2 separate regions of the Homo sapiens genome follow, and region 2 is linked to region 1. Evidence: promoter capture Hi-C in human tissues and cell types (Jung and others, 2019). All regions are on one chromosome and are shown on one strand. The core of a region is centred on a gene start or on the middle of the fragment in contact, and the rest is flanking DNA. Distances in the headings are between cores, read along the strand shown. Region 1 holds the start of OR4D11 (olfactory receptor family 4 subfamily D member 11). Region 2 overlaps PATL1-DT (PATL1 divergent transcript).

What was found. The method cuts DNA at HindIII sites, captures the fragments that hold promoters and counts their contacts. A contact is called where the count stands out against the background at its distance.
Region 2: a contact is called between a fragment that was not itself captured here and the fragment with the promoter of OR4D11 in region 1, in 1 of the 25 tissues and cell types used here (adrenal gland).

Annotation. Positions count from the first base shown.
Region 1 is chr11:59,500,418-59,506,315 of GRCh38, forward strand. It overlaps OR4D11 (olfactory receptor family 4 subfamily D member 11), which reads left to right and starts at 3,159. Exons shown (of 1, transcript NM_001004706.1): 1 at 3,159-4,094. The coding sequence starts at 3,159. The coding sequence ends at 4,094. The HindIII fragment of the contact is 13,495 bases long and covers 1-5,689 here.
Region 2 is chr11:59,675,182-59,681,692 of GRCh38, forward strand. It overlaps PATL1-DT (PATL1 divergent transcript), which reads left to right. Exons shown (of 4, transcript NR_187296.1): 4 at 216-860. Among named protein-coding and RNA genes, the nearest start is that of PATL1-DT, 9.1 kb to the left of the region's middle. RefSeq lists an enhancer at 5,197-5,697. The HindIII fragment of the contact is 4,352 bases long and covers 432-4,783 here.

The DNA.
Region 1 (5,898 bases), core at 1,909-4,408:
ATGAAAAAATAGAGGCTCAATGAGGTTATGCACTTGCCCAAATCACACAGTGGCAAAGCCAGGACTTGAACCCAGATGAGTCTTGATCCCAGAGCCCTTGCACTGAACAATTTCTCTGGTCTGCTAATAAGATGTCAGAGAAGAAGCCAAACCAAGCAAGTGCTCTTTTTACTGTCATACACTGTCACGACTCTCTGGGTCACTGGAAGGCAAATATCTCCTAATTCCTTCAAAACAGCAAATGTTCTGATGAAGTGGTTGAGGACACACGTGTGGGAAACATGCAGCTCCTCTAAAAGAATGTCCATAAATATATTGGAGATATATTTATTGAAGAAGCTGTGTGTGGGAATTATTAACCTGGAGTTGTCTTTAAGGTAGCACACATATAATTACACTTATTACAGATTAGGCAACGCTCTAAGTACTGATGCTCTACATAGATTAACTTATTTAACCCTCACAAAAGTCTAATGAAGGAGATGCTATTGTCTCCAAATTACTGATATAGAGAATGAGGTCAAGGGATGAAGCAATTTGCTCATGTTAGCACAACCAGTAAGTACTCAGCTGGGATTTGAACAGGCTGCGTGGTGCCAGAGTCTAGTAGGCATCTACCTCGAAGGTAGAATACTTCTTGGCAGCTTGTTTTCGGATTTACCCATTAAATAGATTTTGGACAAAATTGCCTAGAGAGGAAAGAAAACTTGAAGACAAAGCGAGCTAAGTGAGAAGAAATATCTTCATTTAAATTGGAGAACACACCCAAAGAACGGGAAAAAAGGGACTTTTGCCCTTCATTTGTTTCTAATTATGGAAAGAAAAAGGAGATAAACTAGGAAGAAAGAAAATAAGGCCCATTACAAAGATTTACCAAAAAAAAAAAGAAAGAAAGAAAGAAAGGAATTCAAAAGCAACACAGTTATAAGGTAAGTGTATGTGTAACAGTTTTTTAAAAAATTGCCAGCCAGGCGCGGTGGCTCATGCCTGTAATCCCAGCACTTTGGGAGGTCAAGGCGGATGGATTACCTGAGGTCAGGATTTCAAGACCAGCCTGGCCAACATGGTGAAACCCTGCCTCTATTAAAAATACAAAAATTAGCTGGGCATGGTGGTGGGAGCCTGTAATCCCAGCTACTCAGGAGGCTGAGGTGGGAGAATCGCTTGAACCTGGGAGGCAGAGGTTGCTGTGAGCCAAGATTGTGCCACTGCACTCCAGCCTGGGTGACAGAGCAAGACTCCATCTAAAAAAAAAAAAAACTGCCAAAATATTTTCAAATTGATTGTACCATTTTACATTCCTACTGGAGTTCCATTGGTCTACATCTTTGTCCACTCTTGATATATCAATCTTTTTCATTCCAGTGACTCTAATGTATACTATTTTTAAATTACAACGTGGTTTCAATTTATATTTTCTCAGTGATAAATGATGTTGAGCCTTTTCATGTGCTTATTTGCTCTCTCTGTGTCTTCTTGCTGAAGTGTCTGTTCAAATAATTTGTCCTTTTTTCTCTTCTTTTTTTTTAACTTCTTTTAGTGACTTCATTTTGTTAAAATAATTTGTCCTTGTTGCTTAATTGGTTGTTTGTTCTCATACTATTGAATGTTAAGAGTTACAGCCATTCCACTCCTAGCTACTTACCCAAGAGAACTGAAAACATATGTCCACACAAAGACCCAAATGTGAATGTTCATAGCAGCTTTATGAGTAATATTCAGAAGCCACAAATAACCCAAATGTTCACCTACAAGTGAGTGGATAAGCAAACTGTGGTATATTCATACAATAGAAAGGAACAAAATAGCAGTACACACAAAACAACGGATGAATTTCATGGTTGAAAGAAGGCAGACAAGAAGAAAATACAAATAGTAGAATTTCACTTATAGAATATTATAGAAAATACAAACTAATGTATAATGACAGAAAGCAGATCAGTTGTTGCCTGAAGAAGGAAGGGTAAAGGGGACAGGCTACAAAGGGGCACAAGGACATTTTCTGGGTGATAGATATATTCACTCTCTTAACTATAGAGATGGTGTCACAGGTATATATGTCAAAACTTATCAGCCGGGAGCAGTGGCTCATGCCTGTAATCCCAGCACTTTGGGAGGCCGAGGTGGGTGGATCACAAGGTCAGGATTTCGAGACCAGCTGGGCCAATATGGTGAAACCCTGTCTTTACTGAAAATACAAAAATTAGCCAGGCGTGGCGGCACACGCCTTTAATCCCAGCCACTCAGGAGGCTGAGGTGGGAGAATCACTTGAACCTGGGAGGCAGAGGTTGCAGTGAGCCGAGATCACGCCACTGCACTCCAGCCTGGGCGACAGAGTAAGACTCTGTCTCAAAAAAAAAAAAAAACATTATCGAAGTGTGAATTCAAATATGTGCAGTCTATGGTATGTCAATGATAGCTCAACAAAAATTATTTTTTAAGAAAGAAATTGAAACAACAGAAGAGAAGCTCTGAGTAATATTTTTATTTCCATTGCTAAGGAGCTATTCACCACCCCGGGGTTTCAGTACCTAAAGTAGATTAAAGTAAAGAAAGAAACAAAGCAGTCCCCTTAAAGAAGAATAGAGCAATAGAAACAAATTTTATGGCTTAAACATTTTCTAATTTTTCATGGAAATAAGTTTGTGATTTAAGAAGAGAGGGGTGCTGCTTCCATACAATTCAATCCAGTGGGGGGCCTCTTTGCAGACAGGGGTTCTTAGAACCATTTAAATGGAGCATCCAGTCTGGGAAAAAACAACAAAATCCTCAGCCCTGTGAAACTCAAGGTGTTCTAGTCACACAAAGTAAGCACTGCCTTATTCTCACAACAAACTAATCCCATTTTTATATTTCCCATGCCACAATAGTCTCTTTCTAAATAATTAATATCCCCCTCTGTTTATCTTGAATAATGTCCTAAGTATCTTGAATAACTGCAACATTATTTTTATACATTTTTTAAAATTGTAATTTATATAAGTGTATGCATGATTGTATAATAAGATGTCATTTTACATGCATTGGCAATAAACTTGAAATTGTAATATCTCACAAGTTTTCAGACCTAATACTTGAATCTGTTAAGAGAGAGTAAACACTTTCTGAAATAACATTATTTTTTCCAAGATATTCAGGAAAGAGAAAACATGATTCAATGGAGTTGGGAAATGTCACCAGAGTAAAAGAATTTATATTTCTGGGACTTACTCAATCCCAAGACCAGAGTTTGGTCTTGTTTCTTTTTTTATGTCTTGTGTACATGACGACTCTGCTGGGAAACCTCCTCATCATGGTCACCGTGACCTGTGAGTCTCGCCTTCACACCCCCATGTACTTCCTGCTCCGCAATCTAGCCATCCTTGACATCTGCTTCTCCTCCACAACTGCTCCTAAAGTCTTGCTGGACCTTCTGTCAAAGAAAAAGACCATATCCTATACAAGCTGCATGACACAGATATTTCTCTTCCACCTCCTTGGTGGGGCAGACATTTTTTCTCTCTCTGTGATGGCGTTTGACTGCTACATGGCCATCTCCAAGCCCCTGCACTATGTGACCATCATGAGTAGAGGGCAATGCACTGCCCTCATCTCTGCCTCTTGGATGGGGGGCTTTGTCCACTCCATCGTGCAGATCTCCCTGTTGCTGCCTCTCCCTTTCTGTGGACCCAATGTTCTTGACACTTTCTACTGCGATGTCCCCCAGGTCCTCAAACTCACTTGCACTGACACTTTTGCTCTTGAGTTCTTGATGATTTCCAACAATGGCCTGGTCACTACCCTGTGGTTTATCTTCCTGCTTGTGTCCTACACAGTCATCCTAATGACGCTGAGGTCTCAGGCAGGAGGGGGCAGGAGGAAAGCCATCTCCACTTGCACCTCCCACATCACTGTGGTGACCCTGCATTTTGTGCCCTGCATCTATGTCTATGCCCGGCCCTTCACTGCCCTCCCCACAGAAAAGGCCATCTCTGTCACCTTCACTGTCATCTCCCCTCTGCTGAACCCTTTGATCTACACTCTGAGGAACCAGGAAATGAAGTCAGCCATGAGAAGACTGAAGAGAAGACTCGTGCCTTCTGAAAGGGAATAGAAAACAAATCCAGGCCAGGCGCGGTGGCTCACAGCTGTAACCCCAGCACTTTGGGAGGCCAAGGCGGGTGGATCATGAGGTCAAGAGATCGAGACCATCCTGGCCAACATGGTGAAACCCTGTCTCTACTAAAAATACAAAAATTAGCTGGGCATGATGGTGCGCACCTGTAGTCCCAGCTACCAGGAGGCTGAGGCAGGAGAATTACTTGAACCCAGGAGGCAGAGGTTGCAGTGAGCCAAGATTGCGTCACTGCATTCCAGCCTGGCAACACAGCAAGACTCCATCTCAAAAAAAAAAAAAAAAAGAGGCCGGGCGCGGTGGCTCATGCCTGTAATTTTTTTGGGAGGCCGAGGCGGGCAGATCACGAGGTCAGGAGATCGAGACCATCCTGGTTAACACGGTGAAACCTCGTCTCTACTAAAAATACAAAAAATTAGCTGGGCGTGGTGGCAGGCGCCTGTGGTCCCAGCTACTCGGGAGGCTGAGGCAGGAGAATTACTTGAACCCAAGAGGCAGAGGTTGCAGTGAGCCGAGATCGCGCCACTGCATTCCAACCTGGTAACACAGTGAGACTCTGTCTCAAAAAAAAAAAAAAAGAAAAGAAAACAAATTCAGCTCTTCATCACCAAGGACACCTTATATTATTTTTCCCATGAATTCACATTTACATACTCAGATACATTGTCAGTAAACCAACTATACTGACTATGAACAATTTGTCTTCCTATTTCAGTTAGTAGATAACTGATAACCTAAGCTTCTGTGCAGCATGAACTAACTAGTGTTATAGGAGTGAACTGACTGTTACTTTTCCAAAGACCAAGTAACCTTATGTCAATCAAGACAGCTATATGGCAGGCAGATAAGATGATTAAGTCCAACATTTTTTTCAGAAGATAAGGAAATAAAAGCCCAGAGAGATAAAGTGATGTGTTCAAGGTCTTATATTAAGTTAATTACAGAGACATCTTCAGATGCTCAACCCATTGTTCTTCCACCACATGAATGTAATTTATTACATTGTTGGACCTGTCTATACCAAACTATAATCCTGTTCCAGAAGGATCTCATGATCAATGCCTCTGGAGTACATATATGTGGGTATGCATAGCCTATTGCAGATTGAGAAATTGGCCTCTGCTGAATTAAACTAAAGTGGGCTCATGAGCTACTGAGAACTTCATAGGAACATAATGGTTATCCTCCTGGATTCCTATCAAGATTGATGAGGCTTGGGAAGATTTCTCATCATGGCCTAAAGGTATATATCTTAATGCAGAACTAGACATGCCACACATTCTCATGATGAGTTTGGATAAAGGCAAAACTTCAGAAACCACACACATGAAGCAATTTATCTCTACCATCAAAGGACCGATTTTCCAGTTGCAGCCTTACAAGGGTCAGTTTTGCCTTGGCCTCACCATTGAGAATTCACATTTCTTTTCACTGGAAAGAGAGAATGGGAGAGTTTAAGAAGAAAAAACTCTACCCGGTCTATTTTTTCAAACTTCTAGTGTTTGTGAAGAGGCAGTATAGGCTAGTGTTATTATCTGGGAGAGCAGTAAAGCATGGTGGATGAAAGCTCTAATTTCAGAGTCATACAGACCCAGGTATGAATCCTATCTCTGCCATCCACCAGCTGTGCGATCTTGAGCAAGTTATTTCACCTCTCTCTCCAAAGGTCATAGTTCACCTACGCAAAGATTCTCGTTATAATATCCATCTCATGAGGTTGTTGTAAAGGACAAAATGAGATGGTATACATGAAATATATGATACCTGGCAGAGAATAAATGTG
Region 2 (6,511 bases), core at 1,358-3,857, 170 kb after region 1:
TTGGGGTGGCTATGGTAATTTCTTAAAATAAGACAAGGAAGTAAGCCACCTCGATTGACTTTTCCTTTCATGACGGAAAAGTTTCTCTGTAGCATGCAGCGCTGTTTGGCATTTTACCCATGAATTAGAACTTTCAAAATTGGAGGCAATTCTCTCAAACACTGCTTTATCAACTAAGCTTGTGTAATACTCTAAATCCTTTATTATCATTTCAGCAATGTTCACAGCATCTTCACCGGGAGAAGATTCTATCTTAAGGAAACTCTTTTCTCATGCATAAGAAGCACCTCCTTACCTGTTAAAAGTTTAATCATGAGATTGCAGGAATTCAGTCACATCTTCAGGCTCCACTTCTAATTCTAGTTCTCTTGGTATTCCACCGCACCTGCAGTGACTTCCTCCACCGAAGTCTTGAACCTCTCAAAGTCATCCATGAGGGTTGGAATCAACTTCTTCCAAAGTCCTGTTAATGTTTGTAGTGTTATGAAATATATATACATATAGGTTTTCATACACAGGAAACAGAATCTCTTTGACCTTCTCTTGCCTTCCTTTTACCTGCCTTCCTTTCACCTACCCCAAAGCAGGACTCTAATCTTCTGCTTTTATAATTGTGGATCATAAGACTCATTTCAGAGAGGGTCCCAACCCATGGCCTGGGGGAAGGAATGCTGATATAATGAAGCTTCCATAAAAATCCAAGAGGACAGCTTCCTGATAGCTGAACAAGTGGAGGTTTCTGGGGAATGGCTACCTGGGGAGGGCATGGGAGCTCCGTGTCCCTTCCTCCATACCTCTCCCTGTGCATCTCTTCATCTGGATCCTTCGTGATATCCTTTATAATAAACTGGTAAATATAAGTGTTTCCTTAGTTCTGTGAGCCACTCCAGCAAATTATTGAACCCAAAGAGGGGGTCATGGGAACCTCAACTTGAAGCTGATTGATCAGAAGTTCCAGAGACCTGGACTTGCAACTGGTGTCTGGGGGGAGGAGGGAGTAATCTTGGGGACTGAGCCCTTTACCTGTGGGAACTGACATATCTCCAGGTAGTGTCAGAATCGAATTGGAGGATACCCAGCTGGTCTCCACTGCTTGTTGGTGGGGAAAATCCCCCATATATTTGGTCACAGAAGTCTTCTGTGTTGATTGTTGTGGTGTGAGAGCAGAGGACAAATGCAGTTTAAGTTTTTCCATGACAATGTTGATACTTTGACCCCTTCCTATGACTCACAAATGTTCTTTTTGCGGGCAGGGGGCAAACAAGTGCAGTGGCACGATCTCGACTCACTGCAACCTCCACCTCCTGGGCTCAAGCCATTCTCCCATCTCAGCCTCCCAAGTAGCTGGGGCTATAGGCGGGCACCATCATGCCCGGCTAATTTTTGTATTTTTTGTAGGGACAGGGCTTCGCCACGCTGCCTGTACCTGGCTTCACAAATGTTCTTAATGGCATTTAGGATGGTAAATCCTTTCCAGGTTTTTTTGTTTTGTTTTGTTTTCCTTTATCTAGTCATCCAGAAGTATCCAGAAGGTTTTCAATTTCTTTTGCCCAGATCCATCAAAGGAATCATTATCTATGACAGCTATAGCCTTACAAAATGTATTTCTGAAATAATAAGACTTGAAAGTTGAAATTGCTGTGTGGGCTGCAGAATGGATGTTGTGTTAGCAGGCCTGAAAACGATTAATCTTGTACATCTCCATCAGAGTTCTTGGGTGACCAGCTGCATTGTCAATGAGCAGTAGTATTTTAAAATAAACCAGTTTTTTTTTTTTTTTTTTTTTTTGAGTAGTAGGTTTCAGCAGTGGGCTTTAAATATTCAGTAAATCACGCTGTAAATGGATGTGCTGTTGCTATCCAGGCTTTATTGTTTCATTTACAGAGCAGAGGCCGGGTAGATTTAGCATAATTCTTAAGGAACCTAAGATTTTTTAGAAGGACAAATAAGCATTGACTTCAACTTAAAGTCACCAGCTGCACTAGCCCCTGACAAGGGAGTCAGCCTGCCCTTTGAAGCTTTGAACCTAGGCATTGAAAGTCCTAGATGGTATCTTCTTCCAATAATATAAGGCCATTTTGTCTGCATTGAAAATCTGTTGATGTAGCCACCTTCATCAATGATGAAGCTAGATCTTCTGGATGACTTGCTGGAGCTTCTACATCAAGCACTTGCTGCTTTACTGTGTACTTTTATGTTATGGAGGTGGCTTCTTTCCTTAAACCTCATGAACCAAGCTCTGCTAGCTCCAAACTTTTCTTCTGCAGCTTCCTCACCTCTCTCCACCTTCATAGAATTGAGAGAGTTAGGGTGTCTGGATTAGGATCTGGCTTAAGGGAATGTTGTGGCTAGTTTGATCTTTTATCCAGACCACTGAAAGTTTCTCCATAACAGCAATAATGCTGTTTTACTTTCCTACCATTTGTATGTTCACTGGAGTAGCATTTTTAAATCCTTTCAAGAGCTTTTCCTTTGCATTCACAACTTGGCTAGCTTCTTGGCCCAAAGGCCTAGTTTTTGGCCCATCTTGCTTTTGACATGCCTTCCTCACTAAGCTTAATCATTTCTAGCTTTTGATTTAAAGTGAGAGATGTGTGACTCTTTCTTTCACTTGAACACTTAAAGGTGATTGTGAGGTTATTAATTGGCCTAATTTCAATATAGTTGTGTCGCAGGGAATAGGGAGGCCCAAAGAGAGGGAGAAAGATGAGGGAACAGCTAGTCAGTGGAACACACACAACACTTAGTAAGTTCACCGTCTTATAAGGGTGCAGTTCCTGGTGCCCCAAAACAATTAAAATAGTAACATTAAAGATGACTGAACACATATCACTATAATAGATGTAATAAAAAGTTTGAAATATTGTGAGAATTACCAAAATGTGAGACAGAGACGTGAAGTGAACACATGCTGTTGGGAAAATGGTGCTGATAGACCTGCTCAATGTAAGGTTGCCAAAATTTTTCGATTTGTAAAAAACACAATTATCTGTGAAGTATAATAAAATGAGGTGTTAGGTTGTTGTTGTTTCTGTAACAAAATTATATTTCTATAGGTCGGAATTTTAAAATGGGTTACAGAACTACATTTCTTCCTTGAGGCCACTAGGGGAGAATTTGTTTTTTGTTGTTTGTTTTTAGCTTCCAGAGGTTACTTGCATTTCTTGGCTTGTAGCCCTATCCTCCATTTTCAAAGTCAGCAGCATAAATCTTCCAAACTCTTTCTCTCTCTGCTTTTGTTATCATACTTTTCTCTTCAATTCTCCTGCTCCTTTGTTATAAAGATCCTGTGATAACATTGTGTGCACCCAGATAATACAGGATAATCTCCCCATCTCAGGATTCTTAATTTAATCATATCTACCAAATCCCTTTTACCATGTAAAATAATATATTCACAGGTTCTTGGAATTAGGACATGGAAATATTTGGGGAGCCATTTTTTAGCCTATGGTATGTATGTGGTATGTATGAGTCATTGGGGTATAAAAAATGATTTCTGGTAGTATAATGAGAAAAAATTTTAAGGTTTAAGTTTGTGTTTTATGTGCTGCTTAGAGATGAATAATGAAGATGTCACTAGGTGAACTATGTCAATGGTTTCTGTGTTCATTTCAGTAACTCCCAAGACAACTGGGGCTATGTTCACTAACATGCTGTTAGTTATATATTGCTGCATACAAAACTACCCTAAAATTTAGCAGTGATATGGTTTGGTTGTATCCCCACCCAAAATCTCATCTTGAATTTTAATCCCCATAATCCCCATATGTCAAGGGAGAGAACAGCTGGAGGTAATTGAATAATGGGGGTGGTTTCCCTCATGCTGTTCTCATCATAATAAGTGAGTTCTCACAAGATCTGATGGTTTTATGTGTTTGGTAGTTCCTCCTGCATTCATTCTGCGTCCCACCACCTTGTGAAGGAGGTGCGTTGCTTCCCCTTCACCTTCCGCCATGATTGTAAGTTTCCTGAGGCCTCCCCAGCCATGCAGAACTGTGAGTCAATTGAACCTCTTTCCTTTGTAAATTACCCAGTCCCGGGCAGTTCTTTATAGGAGTGTGAAAATGGACTAATACAAGCACTTAAAACAAAAATAAGTTATTATCTCACAAAGATTTTGGGGGTCAGGAACTGGGAGCAGCTTAGCTAGGTGGTTCTGGCTCAGAGTGTTTCAGGAGATTGCAGTCTGAATGTTGGCTGGGGCTCCAGACACCTGAAGTCTTGACTAGCAGTGGAGAATCTGTCCTCAAGATGGTTCACTTACATGGCTGTTAGCAAGAGGTGTCAGTTCCTCTCTGGCTGTTCATAGGAGATCTCAGTTCCTTACTACATTAGCATCTCCATAGGGCTTCTTGATTGTCCTCAGGACATGGTAGCTTCTTTTACAGTGAGTAATCTGAGGTAGAAGCTAAAGCCACAATATCTTTTATGACCCACCCTCAGAAGTCACACACTGTCACTTCTGCCACATTCTATGTACTAGAAATAAGTTACTAGGTACAACCCATATTCAAAGGGAGAGGAATTAGGCTCCACTGTGTAAAGGGAGGAGTTTCAAAGAATTTGTGGACATATTTTATAGAACCACCACAGCCTACTTGAAGAAGAACAACAGACCTTTTAATCATGGCAAATTTTCTGGACAGATAAATAGATTCTAGGGTTGGAATGATGTCAGCAAGATGGTGGTATAGGAGGTCACCTGCTTTTATCCCCCAACAATAAGAATTCTTCACCCATCCAGACAAAAAAGTCTCTTTGTGGAAGCCTCACGATTCAGGTAGAAAGTTGTGGAAGCCCAATGGAGCCTAAGACCTAGGAGGGTGATTTTGAGAGTGCAGACCCATACCCTGTTGGCAGACCCATCAACTGTGCTCCCAGATTCAAGCCTGGGGAAATGGCCTCATTCCCCAAGGGGCTTGGCAACAGCCCCTACTGGCCTTGAGGCTACCACCAAAACCATCTGCCAGGGGGTTCAGGAAGAATCATGCACACCAGTGCCTCAGCAGGGAAGGCTCATCTGCCTGCTGACGTTGGTCTTCGCAGCTTGGACCTGAAAGTTGCCTTGTGGCTCGTCTCCACCCCTCCTCAGCTGTGGTCCCAGCTTAGTACTACTTGCTGGGAAATTGCTTCCCAAAGGGAAAGTTGCCCATATCTCACAGGAGTTACCCATTCATCTGAGCCTCTGCAATGGGCTTTCCAGTCTCTGTCCAACAGCAGATTCTGAGACCCAGTCTCAAGTCTGGCCCCACACCCACCTAAGCCAATGGGATGGGTTTGCTGACCTCTGTTCCATGGGGGCCCTTGAGGGGGCCCAGTCTCAGCTCCAGCCCCTCTTTCCACATGTGGGGATTGTCCTGCCTGTGCAGGGAACTGCTGGGAGGGGTGTCTGTCCAGGCCACTGGGACAGTCTTCTGGGCTTGGGTCCCTGGCTAGCTTATCTATACAGCCTAGGTACCTTCCTTCAATCTTCCTCAGGTCCATCCTGGCTTGGGTGCTGTGTCAGCCTCAAAGCCCTTGCAAAACTTGTGATGAACCTGGGCTTAGGGCCCCCTCTAGTGCTGAAGTGGCTGCAACAGCCACAGGCTTAGGAATCACAAGTCAGGCTGCTTAGAACTTCTAGACAGGCCTATTGAAGTAAAACAGGCACAAACAAAGCCAGAATGCAAAGACTAGAATAAATACCTAATACACAGACATTGACGCACATCTGCAAGCATCCAGAATAAGCAGGGAAATTTGACCTCACCAAACAAAATAAGATGCCAGTGACTGACCCTAAAGGGAACTTCAAGAAAACACAGAGAAACAATTCAAAAATTTACCAGAGAAATTTAACAGAGATATTGCAATTAAAAAAAACCCAGAAATCTAGGAGCTAAAAAATACAATGAGTATTAAAAAATATTAGTAGAGAGCATCAATAGCAGAATTAAGCAGAGGAAAGAATCTGTGAACTTGAAGATAGGTTATTTGAAAATGGGAAAAGAGAGATCAGACTGTTACTGTGTCTATGTAGAAAAAAGTAAACTTAAGAGACTCTATTTTGTTCTGTACTAGGAGAAATTCTTCTGCCTTGAGATGCTGTTAATCTGTAACCCTAGCCCCAACCCTGTGCTTGCAGATAATTGTGCTGTGTTGACTCAAGGTGTAATGGATTTAGGGCTGTGCAGGATATGCTTTGTTAAAAAAGTGCTTAAAGGCAGTATGCTTGGTAAAAGTAATTACCGTTCTCTAATCTCGAGTACCCAGGGACACAATACACTGCGGAAGGCCGCAGGGACCTCTGCCTAGGAAAGCCAGGTATTGTCCAGGGTTTCTCCCCATGTGATAGCCTGAGATATGGCCTCGTGGGAAGGGAAAGACCTGAATGTCCCCCAGCCCGCCACCCATAAAGGGTCTGTGCTGAGGAGGATTAGTAAAAGAGGAAGGCCTCTTTGCAGTTGAGATAAGAGGAAGGCATCTGTCTCCTGCTCCTCCCTGGGAATGGAATATCTTGGTGTAAAAC